Regions from separate parts of the Homo sapiens genome. Here regions 2 and 3 are each linked to region 1. The links are contacts of gene promoters, found by promoter capture Hi-C in blood cells and fetal thymus (Javierre and others, 2016). All regions are on one chromosome and are shown on one strand. The core of a region is centred on a gene start or on the middle of the fragment in contact, and the rest is flanking DNA. Distances in the headings are between cores, read along the strand shown.

Evidence for each region. Contacts are between HindIII fragments. The CHiCAGO score rates a contact against its expected background, and 5 or more counts as called.
Region 2: a contact is called between a fragment that was not itself captured here and the fragment with the promoter of FBXO5 in region 1, in 1 of 17 cell types (total B cells). The highest score is 5.8, in total B cells.
Region 3: a contact is called between a fragment that was not itself captured here and the fragment with the promoter of FBXO5 in region 1, in 1 of 17 cell types (naive CD8 T cells). The highest score is 5.7, in naive CD8 T cells.

The regions. Positions count from the first base shown.
Region 1 is chr6:152,980,846-152,984,840 of GRCh38, reverse strand. It overlaps FBXO5 (F-box protein 5), which reads left to right and starts at 1,800. Exons shown (of 5, transcript NM_012177.5): 1 at 1,800-1,984. The coding sequence starts at 1,882. RefSeq lists enhancers at 207-306, 837-956, 1,247-1,466 and silencers at 1,497-1,816, 2,297-2,366. The HindIII fragment of the contact is 9,521 bases long and covers 1-2,894 here.
Region 2 is chr6:152,149,539-152,153,533 of GRCh38, reverse strand. SYNE1 (spectrin repeat containing nuclear envelope protein 1) reads left to right here. Exons shown (of 146, transcript NM_182961.4): 134 at 1,393-1,575; 135 at 1,844-1,981; 136 at 3,866-3,995. Among named protein-coding and RNA genes, the nearest start is that of SYNE1-AS1, 230 kb to the left of the region's middle. The HindIII fragment of the contact is 2,069 bases long and covers 823-2,891 here.
Region 3 is chr6:152,294,075-152,298,069 of GRCh38, reverse strand. SYNE1 (spectrin repeat containing nuclear envelope protein 1) reads left to right here. Exons shown (of 146, transcript NM_182961.4): 94 at 3,943-3,995. Among named protein-coding and RNA genes, the nearest start is that of SYNE1-AS1, 84 kb to the left of the region's middle. The HindIII fragment of the contact is 5,328 bases long and covers 1-3,995 here.

The DNA of each region.
Region 1 (3,995 bases), core at 551-3,050:
CCCTCTGCTTATTATGCAGCCCTGCATTGCCAGTTCAACGCATCTGGGTTCAAAGCCTCAGAAAGCGTCCTGACCATCCAAAATCCTTAACCTATACTAATCTGCATTCTCTACCCCCGATTACATTCTTTCATATCCTCTTTCGTGTTCTGAAATTGTTCACTGTCAACTTCTTTCCCATTGGTCTCTGTAAACTCCCTAAAGGACAGGACTTTGTCTTTTCAACCCTGAATCTCCAGGATCTAGCCCCAGGGCCAGGTTAGGGTGAGGCAAGGAAGCACAGGCCTCAGGTGCGTTTACGGGGATGAAAAAAATTTAAGTCATCAAGAGTGACACTATTTTAACATTTTTAAAAATGAAAAAGGCAAAAAACCCATGATGAACTAATTATCAAAATTTTAGGTAAAGACAGGATCCACCCAGCACTTGTATGATTCATCCTAATCCTGGCCGCGCCCCACAACTAATTATCAAAATTTTAGGTAAAGACAGGATCCACCCAGCACTTGTATGATTCATCCTAATCCTGGCCGCGCCCCACCGGACTCGTCACTAACGGTACTGAAAACTGACTACAGCCAAGAACTCACTCCGAGGCTGCAGAAAGGCACCAGAGGGAAACAGCAAAGGAGGATTCGCCGTTTTGGAGTTCACATCCCGTTGCTTCACTGGGCTGTAGCCATAAAGCTGAGTTCAGGGAATGCACTGCCCTACTTAAGTGCATATTCAAATTGTGAAAAGTTAAGCATCACTAATACTCCGGTACACTTTCATACTGACGTCCATGCCAGCCATCACTAAAAACTCCCTTGGCCACGGGGGTCCAGCCCAAGAGGGCGGGCACTTCTATTTATTCTTTTTTTGGGAGCAGGACTACTGTCTCCTACACCTGGCCCTTTAAGGAAAGGAACAAAAACCCAGGGGAGCGTAGCTGCACACTCAGTAAACTTAACGTTCCTATAAACCAGTAGCGTCTGAAGTGTGGTTGAAAATACAAATAAACGCGCTTGCAAGGAAGAAGTGCCTCGGTCCTACCCTCGGCCCCGCCGGAAGGCCCTGGGAGATGCAGCCGCAGGTCTCCTGCTACAGCCGCTGGGGAAGGCCGCACAGCCTCCTCGCCCACCCCGGAGGAAAAAATCGCGGGGGACTCCAGTGCGCAGGCGCCGACCCGCCAACTCCGCAGCCACAGCCCGCCAAGGCGCCTGCGCAGAGGCGTGGGTCAAGGGGAGGGTCGAGTTAGGAGGGAGAGCAGAGCGCGCGCGTAAATCCTAGAGAGGCGGGCTAAGCTGGACTGGGGGGAGGGTCCGTCTTCCGGAAAGTCTGGATTCCCGGACGAGCCGAGTTGCTGCTCACCGAACTCCCGTTCGAGAGATGATCGAAGAAAGTCGGCTACCATTTGTACCCATCAAAGATCTCCAGATGGAAGCCAGCGCTGAATTTGGGCTGAGATTAGGACTTGCAGGAGGCCGGTCCAGAAGACGGCGGAAGGAATCTTGGCGGGCGCACGCATGCGTGATAGACCCTCCACACGTGTGGCCGGGCCGCGGCCTCCCCGTGCTCGGAGGTCCCGCCCCCGGCCGTAGCATCTTTCCGGACGTGGGGAGCCGGTAAGCTGGAAGGGGGCTGGGCTTCGCGGCTCGGCCCCGCCTCGGCAGCCTCCAATTGGGCGCGGACGAGGGCGCCCCCACCCACTGCCCTCCTATTGGTGCGCGCATGCAAGCGACGCGTCTCATTGGACCGCGCGGATTTAGGCACCAAATTCAAAGATTTTAAAAGTACCAGCTGGCGCCTTTTAAGAGATACAGGTCTGTGAAGCAGGCAGGTTGCTCAGCTGCCCCCGGAGCGGTTCCTCCACCTGAGGCAGACTCCACGTCGGCTGGCATGAGCCGGCGCCCCTGCAGCTGCGCCCTACGGCCACCCCGCTGCTCCTGCAGCGCCAGCCCCAGCGCAGTGACAGCCGCCGGGCGCCCTCGACCCTCGGATAGTGAGTGAGGGGAGCGGTCGCGAGGGGGGCGCGCACGCCAGGAGGGGTGCACGGGGAGGGTCGCAGCCTGAGACCCTGACCCGACGTCCCTCGGAGCCTGGACGCGCGGCCATGCCACACGCCCGGCCTCGGGCGGCGGCAGCGGTTCCTGGGTCCGGGAGGAGGGCGGCTGGGTGTCGGGGGGAAGCCAGAAGAGCCAGATGTGCAGGGGCGGGATGGCGGGCCGCGGGGTCCCGCCACCCACGCCGACCGTGGACTCCAGCCCCGGGAGGTGCGGGTCGTGGCATCCCAGGGCGCCCTTTTTCCTCCTCGGAAGACCCACCTACCCCACCCTGCTTGAATAGGCGCCAAATGCCCCTCCCCTCCCCCACCCCGGGGCCCCCGGCGGTGACAGGGCTGCGAGCGAGAAGCCCCCAGGGCCTGGCCAGGTGCCTCACCTTCTCCCCCTGCGCCCCTTTTCTACATCTGCCCCGCACCCTCACAGCCAAAGGCAGTTTCCCCGATTTTTCGCGGTCCCAGCCTTGCTGGCGGGCGCGGGAGATCGCGCTCGCGGTTATCTCCCGCCTCCTCCGCGTGTCCCGCGCCCTGAGGGGCAGCCCCACCGATCCCTCAGGAGTTCCAGGGTCTCCCTCCCCACTCCCGCCAAATGGAGAGACACCCCCCCAACTCATTGGACCAAACTCAACTGGGACATCCAAACAAAAACGTTACTTTTTCCCAATTTTTTCTCCCTTTGCCCGTTAACCCAGTCTCAGGGCCTGGAGTGGAAAGGGAAGACTTTAAAAAAAGCAATTTTTACTACGAACCTTGAATTTGTCCATAGTATTAAGATGATTTTGTAAGAATCGAAGAATTGGTGACTTTTTCCCGATAACTCATGAAGAATTAGATAGTCCTTTATTTCAAAGCTTGCAGAGAATGGAATGCACTCAAATGCTTATTTTTATCCTCTTTGTTGCTACCTCTAAATAAAATCTATATGCACTTATTTTTACCTGAGAAATAACCCAAAATGAAAAAATTTAGCAATTCGGCATTGTACTATTTTGTAATGACTCTATTATTAAAAAAGAACTCTAGAAAAAAATACTTAATTTTAATTTTAATAGATTAAATATATTTCTAGAAGATCCTGGATCGTCAGTCTACCATCGAAATTCTGAAGCTTGATGGCCTTATGAGGGTTTTTTTTTTTTCTTTTTTGATAACTCTAATTGTCTTTACTACCTTGCTCCTCAGAAAGAAATGACTGCCTGTTGGAATTTTTTCCCCAGTTTACAGGTTTGAGGAGATGAAATTAAAAATACATATATGTTACTTCCAAGTAGTTTTCAAAGGAGGCTTTTGTAAAATTTTCTCTTAAAGATTACTTTATGGTCACAAGCATTGGGCCTCTTAAATTCTTAAGGAATAGCCATGCCTAACGTTGACCACATGGTCGTTATCTGTAGGTATTAGAGACTGGAACTTAATTATTTAACAGAAGAGTTACAAAGATTTTTAAGGACTGCAGCCTTATTTATGATATTTGATATGGAGGATCAGGTCTATATTGAAAAGTTAAATGTAAGATCAAACATTGTAAAATTTACTTTTCTCTATATGACTGGGCTGGGAGTTGGTAAATGAGAAGTTTAAACAATGCCATGTATGAGTCTTATTAGTGTCTGCACTTGGGGGAAAAATAGGAATAGGACATTCCAAGTTCACAAAGCTAGTCAAAAGGCTAAGCAAGGATTTTCATTCAAACTTGGATCTGATTCTTAAATCTATACATTCTAATGGAAAAGTATGTGTTACTCTGAAATATATACTTCTTTGTGAAATGTGTTTTACTACTTTCAAATGTTAATGATTGTCAATGTAAGGAATATGAAGGGATTTGGCTTATGTGATTAAAAATAGATTGTATTGACTAGACCCTTGTGATAGGGACTTTGCCTTGCATTTAGTCCTGTTTCATTGTCTTACTCCCATTTTATGGATGAGGAAAGTGAGGTTTTAAGAGTTA
Region 2 (3,995 bases), core at 608-3,107, 830 kb after region 1:
AGACTCTCAGATTTTAAAGCAAAAGTTAGCCTTATAGTTAGCTTCTATAATGATTGATTTTATTATTTATCATGAATTTTGTAGTTAATTTTCTTAAGAGACAGAAATGAATTGCAGAAACGAAGTTGTGCTTGGGGGCAGTCTTTAGCTGGTCCAATCGCATGAACGTTTGGGATGGACATGGGTGTGCTGGGGTATCTGCCTGGGGGTACTCCAACCTTACCCCAGTGGGCAAACATGTACTGGGACTTCCAGTCATGGCCAGAGCTGAACTTTCCTTACCACTCCCTTTGCTGGAGAAATAACTTAAGGTTTTTAGACTGGAAGCTAGGATTTCCTAGGATGAAGGCTCTGAAAGCAGCTCTCACAAGGAAAGCAATTTAAGAGACAGAAATGTGGTCACATGTAAACAGTGTGATGAGCCAAGGAAAACAGAATTTGGGGATTTGATGAGTGCGGTTCAATTTATTAATTATAGTTTTCATTTTGGTCTAATGCCAAGATAAAAATCAGTCATAAATCATACAAATGATTTTTTTTAAAGCTTCATTTTATTTTGGCCAAATGACTCTTATGCTATAGGGCTCTTCTACATTGGAGGGAAAAGGCAGAAAAGAATATTTTACCTTCAGAATCTCTAAACTGACCCTGGGATAGCCTCAAAAGTAAATTGATGCTACTGTGTGGGTGGTACACTAGCTCTAACATGTTTTATAAAAACTAATTAAATCACAGGAACAACAAAAAAGAAACAGAGCATGTTCCAAATTTTTTAAAATATAAAGTTACTTGTATTTTACTAAATTACTTTTCTTAAAAGCTTATAATAGCTTGATTTTTTGGAAGACCTTTTGCAAAAGGTAGTTTTAAGTTTTTTCCTAATGGACAGCAGAATTGAGGTAATTTCTAGATTTTTAGAAAAGTACATATTTTACAAATAAACAGTTCCATTATAGATATCTTTTTCTCCATATTGACAGCAGAAGTTGTCAACATTTCAAACTCACATTTCCACACACACGTGTATATTTTTTATAGTGGTTTGCTTTGTGGGAATATTTGTTTCCAGGACATTAATTATTTTTAAAGCTACGTGTATATGTGTGTGTATGTATGTGTGTGTGTCTATATATGTGTGTTGGATGCGTGTGTGTTTATTCATTACTACTCCCCATTTTCATATTTTTTGATAGATTCTCCCTTTCCTTTAAGTTACGCTGACTAGATGACTTTGCATTAACAAGGGGAAGTGTACCGTTATTAGACATCATTCTTTCCCTCTGTGATAGTGTAACTTCCCATTCTCCCAGACGCTACAATAAGAAAACCAGGAGCCACTACTGAGAGTCCTTCGCTGATTTCTCACACTGATATGCTTCTCTGTGGCCTTAGGCTTTCCAGCGACAGGTCCACGAGTGCCTGACGCAGCTGGAACTGATCAACAAGCAGTACCGCCGCCTGGCCAGGGAGAACCGCACTGATTCAGCATGTAGCCTCAAACAGATGGTTCACGAAGGCAACCAGAGATGGGACAACCTGCAAAAGCGTGTCACCTCCATCTTGCGCAGACTCAAGGTTTTTGCTATGCCTCATCTGTAATTTAGAGGCCAGAGGATGGGACTGGGCCATTTGAATGCAGTCTTGAGACACAGTCTCAGTGATTTTGTAAGAATGGGATGGCAGGAGGAGTAAACCGGGGAGTGATATAGCAAAGGATTGCAGGCTTCTCATTGCTTGCTGAGAAAATGACTTTACAGAACACTGGAATTCGCTGTGCCATCTCCATATGTTTAGAAGGACTTTTAATAAAAATAATTGTTACTACTTTCCTCTTGCCTTCCAGCATTTTATTGGCCAGCGTGAGGAGTTTGAGACTGCGCGGGACAGCATTCTGGTCTGGCTCACAGAGATGGATCTGCAGCTCACTAATATTGAACATTTTTCTGAGTGTGATGTTCAAGCTAAAATAAAGCAACTCAAGGTAATAGATTATTTTTCAAGTTACCAAAGTGAAGAAAGCCTGAAAATGAAAGGATTTGTGGCTCTTTTGTGAAGAACATAGCAAATAACTTTTCTTTTGAAAAATTAGTTCTGGACTGCAAAAAAATTCAGAAAATGTAAAATATATAAAAAATCAGATAAAGAGCACTACCCAGAAATAACCACTATTGCTTATATCTGGGTAGTGCTCTTATCTTATTTGATATCGATATTGTTGTTGATATTTTTCAACAGCTTGATTGATTTTCAATCAGCTTGATTGCCAGGGTGTTAGGGATGTTCTGCTGTTGTTGTTTTGTTTTTTTTTTTTTTAGAGAGAGTCTCACTCTGTCGCCCAGGCTGAAGTGCAGTGGCGCAATCTTGGCTCACTGCAACCTCCACTTCCCTGGTTCAAGCAATTCTCCTGCCTCAGCCTGCCAAGGAGCTGAGATTACAGGCACATACCACCAAGTCCGGCAAATTTTTGTATTTTTGTATTTTTTTAGTAAAGATGGGGTTTCACTATGCTGGCCAGGCTGGTCTCGAACTCCTAACCTCAAGTGATCCAGCTGCTTTGGCCTCCCAAAGTGCTGGGATTACAGGTGTGAGCCACCCTTCCTGGCCTTGTTGTTGTTGTTTTCGTTTATTTTTTCTAATGTGTTTGTAGCACCTTCACATGGTTCCTTTAACCTCCATGTTGCAAAGCAATACAACTTTCCTATGTCGGGATTTCATTCCTCATAGTCTGCATTCTTAGATGCCAAGTTAATTTTAAACACATTTTGTATTTTTCACTATATAATTCAAACACAGTGGCTAGCTAGAAATTCGAATAGGAGGGATATACATTAGATGTAAGGATTTCCTAAAAGTGGGAGTATTTAACAAATTGAGTGTTTTCCAAGGAAGCTTATGAAATTTTCCTCCCAAGATAGATGGATTTTTTTAAAGAATGGTCATGACGCCCATAACCTTTGGGTTGTTATGATAAAACAAGGAACTTGCCCGTAGACATGGATTCTCAGGATGGAAGAAACAGTAAACCCTGCTATTCTGCCTCACCCTCTCCCCTGATTCCTCTCTCCTGTCATCTCACAGGCGAATCAACATTTACATCCTTCCACAGAAAGTTTCTGCCAAGTGTAATTGAATCTTGTCCCTTGGGACCCTGGCAGGATGATGGAAATTATTACTACCCTCTCTTCTCTCCTGGGAGTCTTTTTCACCATTGGACAATTCAGCTCTTCCACAATTTATTATTGTATTGAATTAAAAGTGAACACTGAAACATACCCAGTGATTTAAATCTTTTGCAACACATAGAATGAGTCTAAATAATCCTCCTGGAATTCCTTGTTTTTCAAATCATAACTTTACCTGCCTATGTTCTGAAATAATAAAAGAATCACCTGAGAAGAAGGCGTGGCATTGGATGGCTTCTCTTAGTCATGTTTGACATAGGATGAGGATATCTGAAATTAAAATGATCGGGATATTTCTTTAAAATGCTACATTTATTTCAGTGACAGTATATTGACTGCCATTGCTTTCATTAGGGATAACCAGTGCTGTCAACTTACGGTGGGTTTGAATATTTTCCCCTGTTATTCTCTACCCACACTACCTGTGATGGTAAATTTTATTAGCCAAAAGCGCTTTTCTGATCATGGAATTCGAATGTTTCTATTTATGACTCCTGTTCTGGCTGAAAATGCATATGTTTTACTTTAGAAGGTAATAGACTCTTGTCTTGTGATTGTATATGGTCAATTAAATAGCCCCTACATGTCTTTTTTAATGTAATGAGAAATACATCTATTATGATTCTTTTATATCAATGTAAGCAACAACAATAGCAAAATCACATGAGATTTGTACTCCCTAGGCCTTCCAGCAGGAAATTTCACTGAACCACAATAAGATTGAGCAGATAATTGCCCAAGGAGAACAGCTGATAGAAAAGAGTGAGCCCTTGGATGCAGCGATCATCGAGGAGGAACTAGATGAGCTCCGAC
Region 3 (3,995 bases), core at 440-2,939, 690 kb after region 1:
ACTCATAAGTCTTATAACTTAGGCACATAAGCAATGAGAAACGTATTTGTAACAGTGACTCCTCACTACATCAAGTATTGACTTTAGTAGTTATTTATAGTACTGAGTGATTTATTTTAATTCAATTTATGTATGTACCTCAAATAAATAGAAATTATTCATCTATAAAAGGTGACATATTTTCAAATCCTTTTAAGAAACCAGGAGTTGTCATTCATATCTGTAGGCATGAGCCACGTGCGCGCGCACACACACACACACACACACACACACACACACACACACACAGAGTGAGACTGCCAGAAAAAAATTATTTGTAATAAATTTATTTTATTCTAGCTCTTTTGGGAGCCTTCTGTATTTATAATAGAGTATCTAATGTAAAATGTTTACACCATTTAAAGGCATTCCTGCTTTTCCTTATGGACAGTAATAGTATTACTTTACATGTATATAAAATAATAGAATTTATATAAGTGCATTTACAAGCATGATTTATTATGAACATATAGGCCTGCCTGTTATTTGCCAAACACTCCACAATGTGCTCAGGATGAAGACGAAAAGCAGTGACCCAGACAGCCCTTAGGGAGCTTACAGTGTGTGTGAGGACAGGCAAATGCTTACAAGAGAAGGTGGCAGGTAGTGTGGCCGAGGGCAGTACAGTGTTGTGGGAGGGCCTAGAGAAGGCACCTAAACTGGCTGGAGTCAGGCAGAGGTCAAGGATGGCCCCCTTTAGTTTTAAGGGAGGAGCACAGTTAGGCAGTTGGAGTGCAGTTGGGTCGTGTGAGATGAAGATTTTCAGGCAGAAGAAACCACCTGTTGGAAGCTGTGGAGGCGGGAAGCAAAATGGCCCATCCAGGCAACTGCAAATAGTTTCAGTGTAATTGGAGAAACATTGGAGGAGGAGGAGAGGGGGAAATGAGACTGAGAGGGATATGGGAACCACATCATGGAGGCCCTGAATGCCACAGGAAGGAATTTCAGCTTCCTCCAGAAGCTAATATTTAACCACTGAGGGAATTTAATGAGAAGCTGTGTACAGAACTGATACTTCTGGATCAATGTGGACAGGAGAATAGAAGTGTGCAAATTCAGAGCCAGGGGAGCTGTTAGAAACAGAAGTTACACAGTCTCATGCTTGGTCCACCCTGGTGATAAAAATGAGAGAAACAGGCCAGGAGGGACTACAGAGGCCAGGAGGGACTACAGAGGCCTGGACAGCTCCTGCTCCACATAAATGAGGCAATGTCTCCTCTGTTAGCATTACTTTAACAAAGACACAGGGCCCAGTGTTACCATACCTTGTGGTTTGCAAAACAAGCTACGAATGTGAATTTTAATGAAATCTCTCTATCTTCATGAAGAGAGATTTTAAACAATTTAAAACATTGTATAAGCCACACTAAATATGTGCAGGTCAGAGGCAGCCCACAGGCTGCCAGTTTGCAACCTTTGAGTTAGGAAGCTGTTACTGTAATGAGAACTTGAACCAAGGCTGTGGCCAGGATATGCATCGTTAGCACTCCATCCTCCCATAAGCAGTGGATGTTAAGGGGGAGGAGAAATCAGGAATAAATCCCAAGTTTATAGCTTAGGTGAGAAGACATTCCATTTATTGCAAGATGGATAATACTTCATTGTTTTTTCCTAAATTGGTTCCTTTTGGAAATGTTGACTTTGAAGAGCCTACAGGATATGCATGAACATCTGGATATGTGAGTCTGGAGCTTATCAATTCACCAATATTGGCGAGTGAGTGGAAAACAAACTATAAAAGAGAAAGAGTGAATGACTAGAAAGCTGGGAGGAGAACAGAGAGATTTTTTAGAAAGTGTTTCCGGAAAGGGTTTGTCAGTGCTATTGAATGCTAGAGGTCTGGCAAGGGAAGGGATGAAAATTCATCATTTTTTGTCAAAGAGAAGAAGCTGGTGAGAGCAAGCTCTGCAGTCATCAGGATCAAAGTCCAAACTGGAATTTAGAAGTGGATCGAGGGTGAGAAAGTCCCATGAAAATCACCCTTTCAGAAGTTGGATTATGAAATGAAAGGGAGAAAACAAAGAAATTAGGATGGAGCCTGTGTGTGCAAGTGCATTCACGTGTGACGATCCGTCACATTGTGAACTGTGGACTTTTTAGAAAATGTGATATCCTTCAAGAAAACAAATAAAAGAAACAGTGCGTGCAGGTGTTTTTGGATGGAAGAGAGAAAGTCAACAAAGCCAGAGAGGATGTTAATAGACCAAGATCCTTGAAAAAGCAGTTTATGGGATTCTCAGAGTCTGTGGGAGAGTCAGGTTTAAGCAGTGAAACTGGAAAGCATAAGATAAGGGTGAGTGTGAATATACATAGACTTTTGAAAATTTGAGAAGTTGCAGTATCTCCTTGACAGCTTGGATTGCATGTGTATGTGTGTGTGTGCGTGTTTGTGTGTGTATGTGTGTGTGTGTGTGTCAGTAACACACACACATGCATAAATGACTCTGGATTGAGTCATGTTTGCGGGTTTCCAAGTGGATGAAGTAAAGGTTAAAAGAGCAAGAGAAACAAGAGTCTTGGCAAGAAAGGGGTTTAAGTAACTTCAGACATAACTACAAGTCCAGCTGAGCGATGACAGCATACAAGGGTGTGGAGGACTGAAGTGGGGTGGGAGTGAGTGAGGATCAATGGATCTAAAGCTATTAAGGACATGAAGAGTAATCCACTCAAGACAGTGACAGGGTTAGGAATAAAGAGGAAGCAGTCTCCATGTTCCAATATCATCAATAAATGTTGGGGACTCATCTGGAGACCTCAGGAACAACAACAAAATGGGTAGAAGCTGTCATAGTCACTCAAATATTATTTCATATAATCCTCAATCCCACCCAAGATTGGACCAATGAGTGAACCAGTGTGCAAGATATAAGTTATTTGCTCCAATTATATAGCTACACAAGAGGAGAATTTCGCTAGAATCTCAGCTGTCCCAGTCTGAATTCATTCTACCGCATGACACTGCTACATTTGTTTCTCAGACGGCTGGAGCCTTCTTCAATACTTTTTACCAATACATGATTCTCAATAAGACTCAGGTATTTTAAGCTGACATAATTCCCTTCAACAGTACAACTGCAAAAGCAATGAACTTTATAATAGCAATTACTCCCCCAATTAAATTTCTACTGAAATACAGATAAATAACCATAGAAACAGTTAAAAACCATCTTTACTATATCTCTTGATATATCTTTACTATATCTCTTGATATAGTAAATTTTATCAGTACAAATAAAATATGTAATGTTATAATAGGTTTAAAAAATTTGAAAGCATGATATTTCATCATTCACTTTGTTTTTTTTGTGTGTATACTTTTAGGAAATGCATAGAAAACCTTTATATTATTTGTTTCTTAGAGTAGTGGTAACTTCCCCATTACATTTTTCTTATTTAATATCAAAATATTTAAATTAATTCAGCAAATGATGAACCCACAGATAGTGAAGATCTGGCTGCATCTGTAGATTTAATTTTATTTAAGTCAAGTAGTTTTTAAATTATTTAAAACTTTAATGAATACATTCGACAACATTTTAGGAACTAGATCATTAAGATTCTCTTTTTTTGCTATTCTAATCAACCTTTAAATACATGTGTACTGCTTAAATCCTTTGTATTTCCATTTAACAAACATAGAATAAGATTGAGTTTTGGCAACTTGAAATATTGGTAAAGTTGTTTTTTGATATATATAAACCAAAATTCTGAAACAATTACAGTGTGCTTTGATACAGTCTTTACATTTTTCTTGTCACAAGAGTTTACTAATTTACTAGTTTGTAGTGCCCCATGAAAGGTGTAGATCTGAAACCTTTCCTTGACATGACCAACAGTACCCAGAGCATATTAATCTAGACTTTGTCTTTTTGTTTAATTCAATACTGTGCTTTGCACTCACAGGACATTGCATATTACCAAGCCTTGTCTGCTGAGAGGTTGCAGACAGATGCTGC